4 separate regions of the Homo sapiens genome follow, and regions 2, 3 and 4 are each linked to region 1. Evidence: promoter capture Hi-C in human tissues and cell types (Jung and others, 2019). All regions are on one chromosome and are shown on one strand. Each heading gives the region's core, a stretch centred on a gene start or on the middle of the fragment in contact. The rest is flanking DNA. Distances are from core to core; before and after follow the strand shown.

The links. Contacts are between HindIII fragments. The study calls those that stand out against the background at their distance.
Region 2: a contact is called between a fragment that was not itself captured here and the fragment with the promoter of ANKRD29 in region 1, in 1 of the 25 tissues and cell types used here (dorsolateral prefrontal cortex).
Region 3: a contact is called between a fragment that was not itself captured here and the fragment with the promoter of ANKRD29 in region 1, in 2 of the 25 tissues and cell types used here (IMR-90 fibroblasts and lymphoblastoid cells).
Region 4: a fragment that was not itself captured here is called in contact with the fragment with the promoter of ANKRD29 in region 1 in 2 of the 25 tissues and cell types used here (bladder and thymus).

What each region holds. Positions count from the first base shown.
Region 1 is chr18:23,661,065-23,664,458 of GRCh38, reverse strand. ANKRD29 (ankyrin repeat domain 29) reads left to right here and starts at 1,548. Exons shown (of 10, transcript NM_173505.4): 1 at 1,548-1,749. The coding sequence starts at 1,729. The HindIII fragment of the contact is 14,259 bases long and covers 1-3,394 here.
Region 2 is chr18:23,886,204-23,889,597 of GRCh38, reverse strand. The region is part of intron 41 of LAMA3 (laminin subunit alpha 3); the gene reads right to left. Among named protein-coding and RNA genes, the nearest start is that of LINC02958, 95 kb to the left of the region's middle. The HindIII fragment of the contact is 3,091 bases long and covers 1-3,045 here.
Region 3 is chr18:23,855,428-23,858,821 of GRCh38, reverse strand. It overlaps LAMA3 (laminin subunit alpha 3), which reads right to left. Exons shown (of 75, transcript NM_198129.4): 33 at 834-978; 34 at 1-133. Among named protein-coding and RNA genes, the nearest start is that of LINC02958, 130 kb to the left of the region's middle. The HindIII fragment of the contact is 6,118 bases long and covers 1-3,394 here.
Region 4 is chr18:23,507,859-23,511,252 of GRCh38, reverse strand. It overlaps RMC1 (regulator of MON1-CCZ1), which reads right to left. Exons shown (of 20, transcript NM_013326.5): 4 at 3,212-3,268; 5 at 1,974-2,060. It also overlaps a transcript of NPC1 not described here. Among named protein-coding and RNA genes, the nearest start is that of RMC1, 6.0 kb to the right of the region's middle. The HindIII fragment of the contact is 4,548 bases long and covers 1-3,394 here.

The DNA of each region.
Region 1 (3,394 bases), core at 299-2,798:
GAGAGGCTGAGGCAGGAGAATTGCTTGAACCCGGGGGGTGGAGGTTGCAGTGAGCCAGGATCATGCCACTTCACTTCAGCCTGGGCAAAAGAGCGAAACTCCATCTGAGAAGAAAAAACAAACAAACAAACAAAAAACTATTAAAGCAAAACCTCTGATGCTTGATTTTTATATAATAACGTTGTGTGGCAACTTAAAAACTGTGTCATTTATAGGCACTCAAGGCAAGGAAAATGTTTAGAGTCCTTATTTTTAAAATTGGAATTTTCTATAAAAGTTCAGAATGTTTTTAATTTAAAGTTGTTTTAAGCACAAAGTAATACAATTTATCCATGAAGGTTAAACATTTTAATTTTTATCATTAACTTTTATTTGTAATTGTTTTCTACCTTTTAAATTAAATATTCGTTACAAATTTAATTGAGAAGAGGGAAGGAGGGGGAGAATGAATGAGTGGATTCTTATAGTTTGAGGGGGTAAGACCTCCATTTTTATACTATTTTTTTGTTTTGTTTTTATTTTTATTTTTGAGGCAGAGTCTTGCTCTGTTGCCCAGGCTGGAGTGCAGTGACCGAATCTTGGCTCACTGCAGCCTCAACCTCCCAGGTTCAAGCGATCCTCCCACCTCAGCCTCCCGAGTAGCTGGGACTACAGGTGCGCACCACCACGCCTGGCTAATTTTTGTATTTTTAGTAGAGATAGAGTTTTGCCATGTTGGCCAGTCTGATCTCGAACTCCTGGACTCAAGTGATCTGCCCGCCTTTGGCCTCCCAAAGAGTTGGGATTATAGGCGTGAGCCACTATGCCTGGGCTACTTTTTTACTTTCACTTTTCTAAAATGCTCTCAAAGAGCTGTTGTTGCCGTTTATACTTAAAACTCCCAGTTTTACTTCGCCCAAACCAATCCTGGGCAGGCAGCAGGAGTGGACACACATACTGCAATACTCCAGGGCTGCAGCATCAGACCCAGAGGAGGAGGGAACTGCTGGATTAATAACGCGGAGGAGGAGGAGGGGTATGAGTCTATTCCAAAATTGGCCTTTGCCCTTCAAAGAGGAAAAGACCACTTATTGTTTGTGCAATCAAAAGGTTTGTTTCCTAGATATTTTCCCCAGGAGAAAAAAGTTTCCCAGGAAACCGAGAAAGAAATTATAACGAAAATAGCTATTGGATGAATTTTTTCCTCAAGCTTCATTTTTACATCATTATAATATTTGTGCTGTAATGAAGGTTGGGAGTCCTCTGGGGCAGACCAGTCTATTTGGGAGGATATGTATGGAGTTTGTGTGTGAGTACATGCGGGTGAGTGGGCGTGAGTGTGGAAAGTATGTGTGTGGAACCTCTGTGTGTGTGGAATGTGGAGCGTATGCACAATGTGTGTGGAGTTTGGAGTGTGTGTGTGGACGAGTGAGTGTGGAAGTGTGGACGTGTGTGGAAAGTGCACAGTGCGTGCGGAGTTTGGGGTGTTTGTGCACGCGCGTGTGTGGCAGGTCCTGGAGCGCGTCCACGCGACACCCCATGTGTAGTGTGCGCGCGCGCGCGCCCCCGCGCCGCCCCTTCGGCCCGGCCCTGTGTGCGGCGGCTGCTGCCGGGCCGGGCGGCGGGAGCGCGCGGCGTCGGAGGCCGCCCCTCTGCGGAACGCCGAGAGCCCCGGGAGAGTGAAGGGCCGGGGAGGACAAGGCGCCCCGGGCCCAAAGCGCGCCGGCTCCCGCTCGGGCGGCCGCGGACATGTGCAGGATGTCCTTCAAGGTGAGCGACCGGGACTCCGGGGTCAGGGCTGGGGCCGGGCTCGGGCGGCCGGGCCCGCGGGGTCGGGTGGGGTGGGATGGGGTGGGATGGGGTGGGCGCTGCCCGCTGCCCGCCGCCTCCTCCTTCCTCTCTCCTCCAGCTGCGGGCGAGGCCCGGGAGGAAGCGGCGGGGCTGGGTGCGCCCTGTGGGTTTGCGGTTTGCCTGCCTGCCCTGCCTGAGAGGCTTCGCACTCATGGCTGTGGATCGGCTGAGTCTGTGCCCGGCGACGGGGCGGCGGGGACTGTCGCCGGGTAACAGGTCGGGGGCGGGTAAGAAGCCTGGGGTCAGCGCTGTCCTGCAGCAGAAGGAGTCCCCGACCCTGACCCTCTGGGTCCTCATGCAGGAGTACCAGCTGCACCCACGGATGCCTCCTCCCCGGAGGGGTGGCCAGCACCCAGGGAGGCTTCAGGGTCCAAAGGTGTCTTGTCTCAAAAGAGTTGATTAAAGTCATTCCATCTAATCCCCACATTTTAGGATGAAAGAGGTTGATTTGCCTCGATTGAAAGGGTTTAATAAAAATAGCAGTTAAAATGTATTAAACAGTTCAAATGTGCCTGACTCTGAACCAAGGACATGGTGTGTATGGTCTCAACCCTGGGGGAGACCTGTGGGAGGTGCTCTTCGTGGCTCTTTTTTTTTTTTTTTTCAAATGAGAAAACTAAGATATAGAGAAATTAACTCACCCACGGTTTTGCAGCCAATAAGTTATGGTGTTAAGACTGAAACCCAAGTGTGTCTGACTCCTAAGCCACTGTAATCCCGTTGCCGACAATAGCTCATGTAAGCAGAGGAGTGACATGGCGAGATGTGCATGTTGCAAAGATCTCTGGCTAGGTTTGGAGAAGAGGGTTGGAGCTGGAAGATGTTGTCATCTTTTTAAGAAATGGTACTGGACCAGTGCATAGGTGGTGAGAATGGAACGAAGCAGACGAATGTGAATGACTTTAAAGTTTTTTTTCCTGAGACGGAGTTTTGCTCTTGTTGCCCAGGCTGGAGTGCAATGGTGTGATCTCAGCTCACTGCAACTTCCGCCTCCCGGGTTCAAGCTATTTCTCCTTCCTTACCCTCCAGAGTAGCTGGGATTACAGGCGTGCGCCACCATGCCCAGCTAATTTTTTCGTATTTTTAGTAGAGACGGGGTTCTGCCATGTTGGCGAGGCTGGTCTCGAACTCCTGACCTCAGGTGATCCACCCTCCTTGGCCTCCCAAAGTGCTGGGGTTAAAGGCGTGAGCCACTACGCCCGGCCGACTTTAAAAGTTTTAAATCGGCATAATTCAGTAGGGAAGGCAAGAGAGATAAAGATAAAACGTTTGGTTTGGGATAAATTTTGAGGATAGATGGGAATCCAAGCAGAGATGTTGATTAGACAGATATACTCTCCTCGATCCCAGGAGGCAAGTCTGGGCAGCAGCTAGAGATGAGATTTAGGAGTCAGCAGTGTTAAGTAGGCACCCATGGGAATGAACATGATTGCCCAGTGGAACCATATAAAGGTGGAAAATAAGAGGACTGAGGACAAAATCTTGAAGAAGATTTGAGAAAGAGCAGCCAGAGACGAATGAGAAAACTCAGAAGCATGTGCTGTCACTTACACCAAGCATCTCT
Region 2 (3,394 bases), core at 251-2,750, 230 kb before region 1:
TTTATTTCTCTCTTTTCTTTCTTTCTTTCTTTTCTTTCTTGACAGTCTTACTCTGTTCTCCAGGCTGGAGTACAATGGCACAATCACAGCTCACTGCAACCTCGAACTTCTGCACTCAAGCAATCCTTCTGTCTCAGCCTCCCAAGAAACTCAGACCACAGGTGCATGCCACCATTTCTGGCTAATTTTTTAATTTTTAGTAGAGATGAGGTCTTGCTATATTGCCCAGACTGGTCTTGAACTTCTGGGCTCAAGCAATCCTTCTGCCTCAGCCTCCCAAAAAACTGGAACTACAGGTGCATGCCACCAGGCCTGGTTAATTTTTTAATATTTAGCAGAGATAAGGTCTTGCTATGTTGCCCAGGCTGGTCTTGAACTCCTGGGCTCAAGTGATCCTCCTGCCTCAGTATCTAAAGTGCTGGGATTACAGGCATGAACCACTGCACCTGGCCTGCACTATGTCAAGTCTGCATAATTCATATTTGCACTAATTGCTGCCGTGCTGTATATAATGACTCTTAAACAACTGAGAGCAGTTACAGCTGCTACCTTTGGCCCTGAGCCTTTTTTATTCTAGATAGTATAGTAATGAGAACTCATTACTGGTTTACAAGTTTAAAGATCACATTTCCTTGATTCTTTGATTTTTTTTTTTTTTTAAAGTCAAATAAGCACATATTCATGCTCCTGGAGTTGGGATGTCAATTACAATATTTCCATTAATAAAGTTCCACTCCCCATCCAGTCACCCCCAAATTGTCATTAAACTGATGTGTGGTGTCTTATCATCAATTGACTTGATAGACTCAAGGGAATATGGTATTTACCTCATTTCCCCAAATTTAAGCACTGCATCAAAAAAAATTAGGCAATTCCAATACACGTTACCATGTACTTCCAATATACTTCACCAATGTATTACCATGGATACACTGTTGATATAATGTAAAGGATCAGTAAGATCTGGCTGGACTCCTATCTCTACTACTTACTAGTGTGATCTTGGGCTGTTGCTGTAACCCTCTGTGCTTCAGTTTCTTTACCGGTCCCCCCCACAGCCCCCATGAAAATATAAGCTCCATGAAGATGTGGAGTTTTGGGCTGTTTTGCTCACTGATATATCCCTACGGTCACCTGGCACATATTCATTCATTTGTTGAATGAATAAGTGAGTGGACTAATAATACCTATTTTGCTCAGTGAATATGAGATAATGTAATAAAGAATCTAGCGTAATATCTGCACATAACAGACAATGAAGGGTAGCTATCGTAATAAGACATGACAAAATATTCATCTTCTAATTGGCATCATTTGAAATTATTACAAGAAAGCAGAAGGCCCATGTATCCCCTAATAATCCAGAAGGTAACTAGGCTGAGGTGGCCTATTTAAGTCTACTAAGCAGGGTGGTCATATACTAATAATAGGGCTTTACTTTGTGACTGGCTTGGTATTCTACCTAACAGATCATGTTATGCAGAAGCTCTGTGTTCTAGAATACTTTATTTTTGATGTCTTTCTTACCTACATCTAAACTTCCCATGTAATAGATGCATAATTACAAAGTACCTTATATTTAAATCACAGAAATATTCAGGAAGTTCGATTCTACTTCTTCCTTACTCTTGCAAAGCATTACTTACTGGTTATAAGAAATAACTGGTTCTCTTATTCTCAATTTATGGCAGTGGCTAAACCCAAAGGACTGAAGTAAAACCTCCTGATTTCACGAATGACATTGGTACAACAAATAAAGAGCAGAAAATAGGCTTGTCTTGTGTGGCCCTGTGTGTCTGAGGGAGAAGAGGGGTAAGAGCATGCATGGGCTGGAAAGCCTTTGCGAAACCCTCCCCACAGCTGGCCACTCTGGCTTCTATCCAGCTAGTCTCCTGCATAATCTATATTCCTGCTTTTCACCCTTGACTGTCCTTGTGTTTATCATTGTGTAGTTAATCACTAGTGCCAGGAATGATGTCTGGGTGCTGTGTCTAACAAATGAAAAATGTTGACATAAAATGGCATTTATCCATGAAAAAGCTTCAAAAAATTTTTTAAAGAAATAATAGCTTGTTTTCTTGAGACATCAGATATAACAAACATCAGCTGAGAGAAGTACTGTTAATTAAAAATTTTGCCTGCCAAATGGATGTCTCACCGAGCCTGTTGCTGTTTAATGCTTCATTGTTTGTGAAGAGCCATAAAGAGGATGAAATTAGGACGCCTCTCCCAGGTGTTGGTCCCCTGTGGCTTTTAAACCTCAGAGCCTAGAATCCTTTCCCACTCCCCACATCCTTCCCTTCTCGCTGGTTGGATATACCTCCTAATTGCAGCTCAACTTAGCCCAGTTCTCCCATCTCTCGCTATTTTAATGGCATGTTTTGATGTCTGTCCACCACTGGACTGGAAAGCCCTTGAGGACACTGTCTGTGCTGTTTGTTAATGTGCCTCCAGTACTTAGCACTGTGCCAGACATATATATACTAGGACCTCCATACATTTTTCATTGAAAGAATAACTGAATAAGTGTAAGGCAAGTGTGAGAAATGCTCCTTTTGCTGAAATGGAAAATGGAAAACAGAAGAACCTTCCATTACCATCTTTTGCCATAGAATTGGGCTCCTTAGCTGCTGCTCAGTGTCCCCAGTCTAAGGCAGTCCCCACCTCCTACACATGGCAAGTGTCTTCCAGCCCCTTGGGCTTTTCTGCCTTGCTTCCCCAACCTAACCTGCCTCCCACTTCCATCTTCTGGCTCCACTGGGTTCTAGTAACCCCTTGGACCTACCAAAGTCCCACCTTATCCATAAACATTTCAGATAACCCCAGTCTAGGGTGGTTATGCCTTACTTGAAATCTGGTTGAATTCATTTTCCGGTTAAACAAAAATTAGTCAAACTCTTTTAAAGTTTAAACAAAACAATGTAAATTAAAATGATACACAATTTTTCTCTATCAAATTGGCTTTTTTTTTTCTGTTGCCCAGGCTGGAATGCAGTAGTGCGATCATAGCTCACTGCAGCCTCGAACTCCTGGGTTCATATGGTTCTCCTACCTCAGCATCCCAAGTAGCTGGGACCACAGGCACACACCACCACACTTGGCTAATTAAAAAAAAAAATTATGGAGATGAGGTCTCTCTATGCTGCCCAGGTTGGTCTCTAACCTCTGGATCACATGAAATAATCCTCCCAACTTGGCCTCCCAAAGTGCTGGGATTACAAGTTTGAGCCACCATGCTTGGCCCTAATTAGCAAATATTTAAAATATTGATCCTTTCCAATATCCATTGTGGTAGGTAGTCACTCATTCTCTTTTGCTGCTGTAAGAATATAAACTTTTCTGGAGGGCAATTTTGCAAAAAGTATTAAAAGCCTGGAAAACCTATCCTCTGACC
Region 3 (3,394 bases), core at 247-2,746, 190 kb before region 1:
TTCGCTTATGTGAGCTGTGACATTGATTATTTACTCCAAAACAGAAACAGCTGGTACAACCCTTGAGATTGGCTGGGTCCAAATGGAATGAGCCTTCTCGACACACATTACACTCTGTGCCTTCTACATTTTCCTATTGAAGCAAAACATGAAATAAGAGATCACGTGTTCCAAAATTTCCCTAGTTGCAATTAGCTACTTGCACAAATTAAATACCAACACAAGATGTTAGGATGAGGATGTGAGCAAAACATTAAAAGAGATGTTAATTATTAAGCTTTCATCCCATGTTAATTGTTTAAACTTTTATACCACACACAAATGGAGGAGAGAATTCTCTAAATTTCATAAGATGCCCCTGGGGCATCTTGCAAGTAGAGAAATAGCACCATACGGTTCACAGGATGGGGAGACCAATTCATCTCACTCACCACCACCTTAAAACATCTCCTGGGAATTGGAAGGTCTCCTACAACCTGGCGGAACCCCTTGGAGCAGAGATGATCACCTGGAGTCCATGGTCCAGGAATGGGTTTTAGGTGAACCTATGAACCTCATGAAACTGTAGATAAAAGTTTGTGCTGATTTTTCTGGAAAGGGTCTATATCCGTCATCAGATTCTAAGGCGGTCTGAGACCTCTCCAAAAGATAAAAGGGGTCTCACCTCCTAACTATTTCTGTAAAATGAGATCGTGACTATAAAATGCTACATACACTATCAACATCTCTTACGGGTCAGTCCCATTTCCCACATACTTTTCTATGTTGACTCAACATGAAGCACTTTCCTGCTGACCGGCAGCTGTTGTCTGGCATTGCACGATCTCTCTTACCTTGCAGAGGCAAGCCCCGGTCCCTGGGTCACACACTCCTGGCTCAGTCCCATCTCTGTTGCAATTGCAGGGAACACACTCAGGAAAGCGGTAAAACCCGGAAGCACATCGGTCACACTGCCGCCCTGTGATTCTGGGCTTGCATCTGTACACAAAGTAAAGGAAGCAAAAATCATCATCTTTGTACACACAATTTTAAAGTGCTCACTTACACTATAGTGGACTAATTGGTGTGCAAAGCCAGTTAAATAGATACAATGCCTGCTTATAGTCCAAGGCAGAATGGAGAGAGGCAGATAAAAGGCACTTACAGAATGTAGGTCATTGACCAATGGCCATTGTGGATGGTCATGGATGACCGTCGTAGATGGGTCAGGCTTAGCACTAGGTGTTGAGGGCGCAAGAAGGGACATGGCCCCCGAGCCTGGAGGGCTCCCGCAGATGGCCCATAAGTGGAAATGATGACAACCTACACAGAATCTAACTGAGGTTCAGAGGAGTAGCAGGTGACAAGTTTCCCTGGGGGAAATGACTCCTGACCTGAGCTTTAAAGGGCAGAGTCATAGGGTAGAAGTTGGGATGCGCATTCCAGACAGAAGGAACAGAGCGGGAGATCACTCAGTGTGTACAGGGAACAACACAAGCATGGTGCTGCTGGGGCAGATGTCCAGGCAGGGAATGCTGCCCCATGGCCTGAGGAGGTAGGTGGTGTCAGATCATCAGGACAGAGGGGCTGGACACGGCAGCACAGCGCAGTAGCTGAGACCTGTGCATGCAAGGCTGCAGTTCTAATCCAGCTCTGACCATATGAGACACACCATCTTAGCAAGTTCTTTAACTTCCCAAAGCCTGCTTTTCATACCTATGAGGGACAGAACACGGTAGCTGCTGCCTCCTGGGATTGCTGGGAACCCATGAGGCAGTGCATGCAAAATTTCATCCCAGTGCCTGGCACTTGGCAAGTTACAAACAAGGCAACATGAACAGCTGTTAAGGAGGAGAGGGTGTGGTTGGACTTGTGTGAAGGATGGAGCCCAGAGGGTGAATTCCAGCAGCAGCAGCAGCAGGATGTCAAGTCAGGAGAGAGACTGGGGGCTAACCTAGGGCAAAGGTATCCAGATGGGGAGGAGGGATGGGCTCCCAAACTATTTTGGGGTGAGGTTTCTGGGAACTGTAAGATTCTGGATGAGGAGTAGAGGAAAGAAGAGAAGACAAGGAAGACTCCCAATTTCCCTGCTTGGGTGACAGAGTGGATCTTAATGTCCCTTGTTACCTGCAAGGGCCAGAGCTCAGAGGAAAGCACAGTGGGGGGTGGGAGGGTCACTCTGAGTCATCCACCCTCAACCATCTGCAGGTCCTTTTAACTGAAGATCCGGGCAGACAAGAAAACACAAACAGCTGAGCAGAGGCAGAAAAGCAGTGGGCTATGGCTGTGCCTGGAGAACCCAGAACTCGAGGTTGGAGAGGGGAAGAGAAAGTGCCGCGAGCCCTGGGGAGCCAAGCACTGCATTCAGAGCTGGGATCTACCTACACACTGATTCTCTTCTGTGGGACTAAGGGAAGTATTAGAAATACATTTTTATTGGCATATAGGCAATAACACTTTATTGTTCAATTACTACCAAATGTAGGCCATCACCTATCTCCTAATACCTGTGAAAATATCTTACCCCAGTGACCATCCTAAAAAAGTTAAATACGACTCTTCATATCCCATTAAGTTTCTCTTTGGCAAATATCTGCTTATTTCCCTTTGGCAAATATCTGCTTATAAAGGATTTTGTATGTGATTAAGAACATAAACTTGGAACCAGGTAACCTGCTTTGAATCCCAACTCTACCACTTACTGGACCTTGGGCAAATTGGTCACTTTACAACCAAGTTTCTTCATCTGTAAAAATGGAGGTAACAATATCTACTTCACAGGATTGTCGTGAGGATTAAATATTACATGTAAAAACCTTACAGGAGTTGCTTGCACACACGTAAGTATTTGCTATTACTATTCTAGCTGTGACATGGGCTAAGGGGAGGAGACGGTGCCTTTCTGTCCACTCGGCACAACTAAAAGGACCAACTCAGCATTACTTGCAAGACCTCCTGGCAAGTTGCATCTTTCAGCCCCATCCCTCTCACCTCTCCCTACTCGATACCTGCAGAAATGATTCCATAAGGAAGTAGCCTCAAAACCACACTTAGAGTAATGTAGGTATAGAGTGTAAATGTTCTGCTTGAAGTGGATGGCTCTAGTGCAGTGGATTGTAAACTCTGGGAGAGGATCGGAGACGCTTTTGGAAAGCTGGGTAAACTATGGGCCATATTCTCAGAAAAGTGTCCACTAAACTCACAGAAAGACTCATTCTCATATACACACAATTTTGCATTCTCTTATCAGAGGGCTCCTGGCCCCAGGTTAATAACAACTGCTCTCTTCTTGTGACCCTCGGACTAAATGTAATCAGGCAGTCTGGCAAAAATGTAAAGCCTGTTCTCAGCTGATTCCTTATTTCTGGAGAGACAGCGAGTGTGGAGCACAAGGACTCTGGTGGTCTAGAGACCG
Region 4 (3,394 bases), core at 296-2,795, 150 kb after region 1:
GAGATCATGTGGTATTTGGTTTTCTGTTCCTGTGTTAGTTTGCTAAGGATGATGGCCTCCAGCTCCATCCATGTTCCCACAAAAGACATGATCTTGTTCATTTTTATGGCTGCATAGTATTCCATGGTATATATGTACCACATTTTCTTTATCCAATCTGTCACTGATGGGCATTTAGGATGATTCCATGTCTTTGCCATTGTGAACAGTGCTGCAATGAACATTCACGTGCATGTGCCTTTATGGTAGAATAATTTATATTCCTCTGCATATTACACCCAGTAATGGGGCTGCTAGGTCAAACAGTAGTTCTGCTTTTAGCTCTCTGAGGAATCGCCATACTGTTTTCCACAAAGGTTGAACTAATTTACACTCCCAGCAATAGTGCATAAGGGTTCCCTTTTCTCCACAACCTTGCCAGTATCTGTTATTCTTTGACTTTTTTATAATGGCTATGCTGACTAGTGTGAGATAGTTTCTCATTGTGGTTTTGATTTGCATTTCTCTAATGATCAGTGATGTTGAGCTCTTTTATGTTTGTTGGTCGCATGTGTGTCTTCTTTTAAAAAGTGTCTGCTCATGTCCTTTGCCCACTTTTTTTTTTTTGAGACGGAGTCTCGCTCTGTTGCCCAGGCTGGAGTGCAGTGGCACCATCTCAGCTCACTACAAGCTCCGCCTTCCAGGTTCAAGCAATTCCCTGGCCTCAGCCTCCCTAGTAGCTGGGATTACAGGTGCCTGCCACCAACCTGGCTAATTTTTGTATTTTTAATAGAGACAGGGTTTCGTCATGTTGGCCATGCTGGTCTCGAACTCCTGACCTCAGGTGATCTGCCCACCTCGGTCTCCCAAAGTGCTGGGATTACAGGTGTGAGCCACTGTACCTGGCCTTTGCCCACTTTTTAATGTTGTTGTGTTTTTGTTTTTTTTTTTGAGATGGGGTCTCACTGTCATCCAGGCTGGAGTGCAGTGCTGTGATCTTGGCTCACTGCAACCTCCTGCCTCCCAGGCTCAAGCAATCCTCCCACTTCAGCCTCCCAAGTAGCTGGGACTACAGGCGCACACCACCATGCCTGACTAACATTTTGTATTTTTTATAGAGATGGGATTTCATCATGTTGGCCTGGCTGGTCTCAGACTCCTGGACTCAAGCCATCCACCCACCTTGGCCTTCCAAAGAGCTGGAATTACAGGCATGGGCCACCAAGCCCTTTTTCTTTTCTTTTTTTTTTTTTTAATTTATTACTTGCAATTATAAAAAAAAAAAAAAAGAATAAAATCCCCAGCAAGAGACTAAAGCTGAGTGGCCAAGGCAGGAGTTGAGGTTAGGAGTTTGACACCAGCCTGGGCAACATAGCAAGACTTCGTCTCTACAAAAAAGTTTAAAAATTAGCCAGGGCCGGGCGCAGTGGCTCACGCCTGTAATCCCAGCACTTTGGGAGGCCGAGGCGGGTGGATCACCTGAGGTCGGGAGTTCGAGACCAGTCTCAACATGGAGAAATCCCGTCTCTACTAAAAATACAAAATTACCCGGGCATGGTGATGCATGCCTGTAATCCCATCTACTCACGAGGCTGAGACAGGAGAATCGCTTGAACCTGGGAGGCGGAGGTTGCGGTGAGCCGAGATCGCGCCATTGCACTCCACCAGCCTGGGCAACAAGAGCGAAACTCCGTCTCAAAAATAAAATAAAATAAAATAAAATAATAAAAAGAAAAATTAGCCAGGCATGGTGGTACATGCCTGTAGTCCCACCTACTCAGGAGACTGAGGCAGGAGGATTGCTTGAGCCCAGGAGTTTGAGATTACAGTGAGCCATGATGGTGCCACTGCACTGCAGCCTGGGCAACAGAGCAAGACTCCATCTCTAGAAAATGTTTAAAATATATATATATATATTCAGTACTGAATTCAAAAGGCTGCCAGAATGCTATCACTGAACTTTAACCAACAAACATAAATGATAAACATAATACCTGGTAAAATTCGATTCCTTGATCTGTTATGAAGACAATTTCAGTTGAACTAGTCCAGCAGAATCCTAGAATGTTGGCATTCTTAGTCTAAGAAAAATTTTTTAAAAATATTTTTAATTAATAAGAAAAAACACATATAACTCTCTTCAAAAGCTTCACAAACTCTGCAGTTTGTCATTCTTTAATGAACGTTCCCCGGAATGTTTACTAATTAACAAAACAAATTTTCTTTTAAATACAATGTTCCCTGATTTTTGCCCATAACTCTTCATTCAAGAACCTGAATCCTAATTCCTTCTACTAAACAGAACAGGAGAAGTCTGTGTTTTGTAGAAAAGTAACTGACCAGAGCTCACAGACAGCAGCTTCTACCTGCAGGAATCACCATACTGCCAACATTCTTAGTCACCCACGTTATAAAAATGGTTATTAAAAATGTACAAAGGCCTAAGGGTCTTTAGTGAGTGTTGACTAAAATGGGTTGAGGACCCTGAGACACACACCCGACTCGCTTGAGGGCAGACAGGTTTGAGAAGGGCCGGGCTGAGGGTCTCTTCACACGGGGCCACTGCAGGGCAGGCAGGACAGTGGTGGGGATGCACCTCTCCTCACCAAAGAGTCCGCCCTGAACTCCATTGAGCAAAACAGTCACAAAAATGCAGAAAGCCCTACCCCAACCACTAGCAGCTTCTGTCAGCGCCCAAGGTGCCACACTGCCAATTTTAGCTCAGCTCCCTCTAGCCTAGTTTACTACACCCAGCAAATCTCATTAATGTGGATTAGAATCAACACCTAGGAGAAGAAAGAAAGAGTAAGGACAAGACAAAGACAACAAATTGAGGAAAGGAAACTTCAGGAAACAGAAAAAGAAACTCCTCACCAGAAACCTCCACTCCAGGTGGCTGTGAGGCATCCCAGGGCCCAGACCCAGATGTGCTGTCAGCCCAGTGAGGAGAAAAAGGGCAAGACAGACGACAGCCCCAAGGGCTAGCACTACTGGGTGTTCACCACGCATCATCCATTGAACCCTCCCCCTCCAAAGGAACAAGCTTTCAAACTTAGAAAACTGTTCAGTGTCACAAAGCAAACACCCCGCCTGACTCCAGTTTGGGAATCAACATGAGGGACAGTCTGACTTCAAGTCTGTGCTCCCTGCGACCCCAATGCCCCGCTCTCCACTACATAACCCAGCTCAACACCACTGACACCAGCAGCTGAGAAAGGGCCTGGGGTCATACCTTGCACTCCTGTGTGTATTCCAGCTGGGAATTATCAGGGATAAAATTACAAAAATCCTGAAAGGAAAAACACACAGACACACACAAATTTGGATTAGGCAGCATACTGCCAACCTACGTTGGCATACTACAAGACAAGAAAAATAAATATTAACTTAAAAAGTGACCAGAAAATAACTGAAG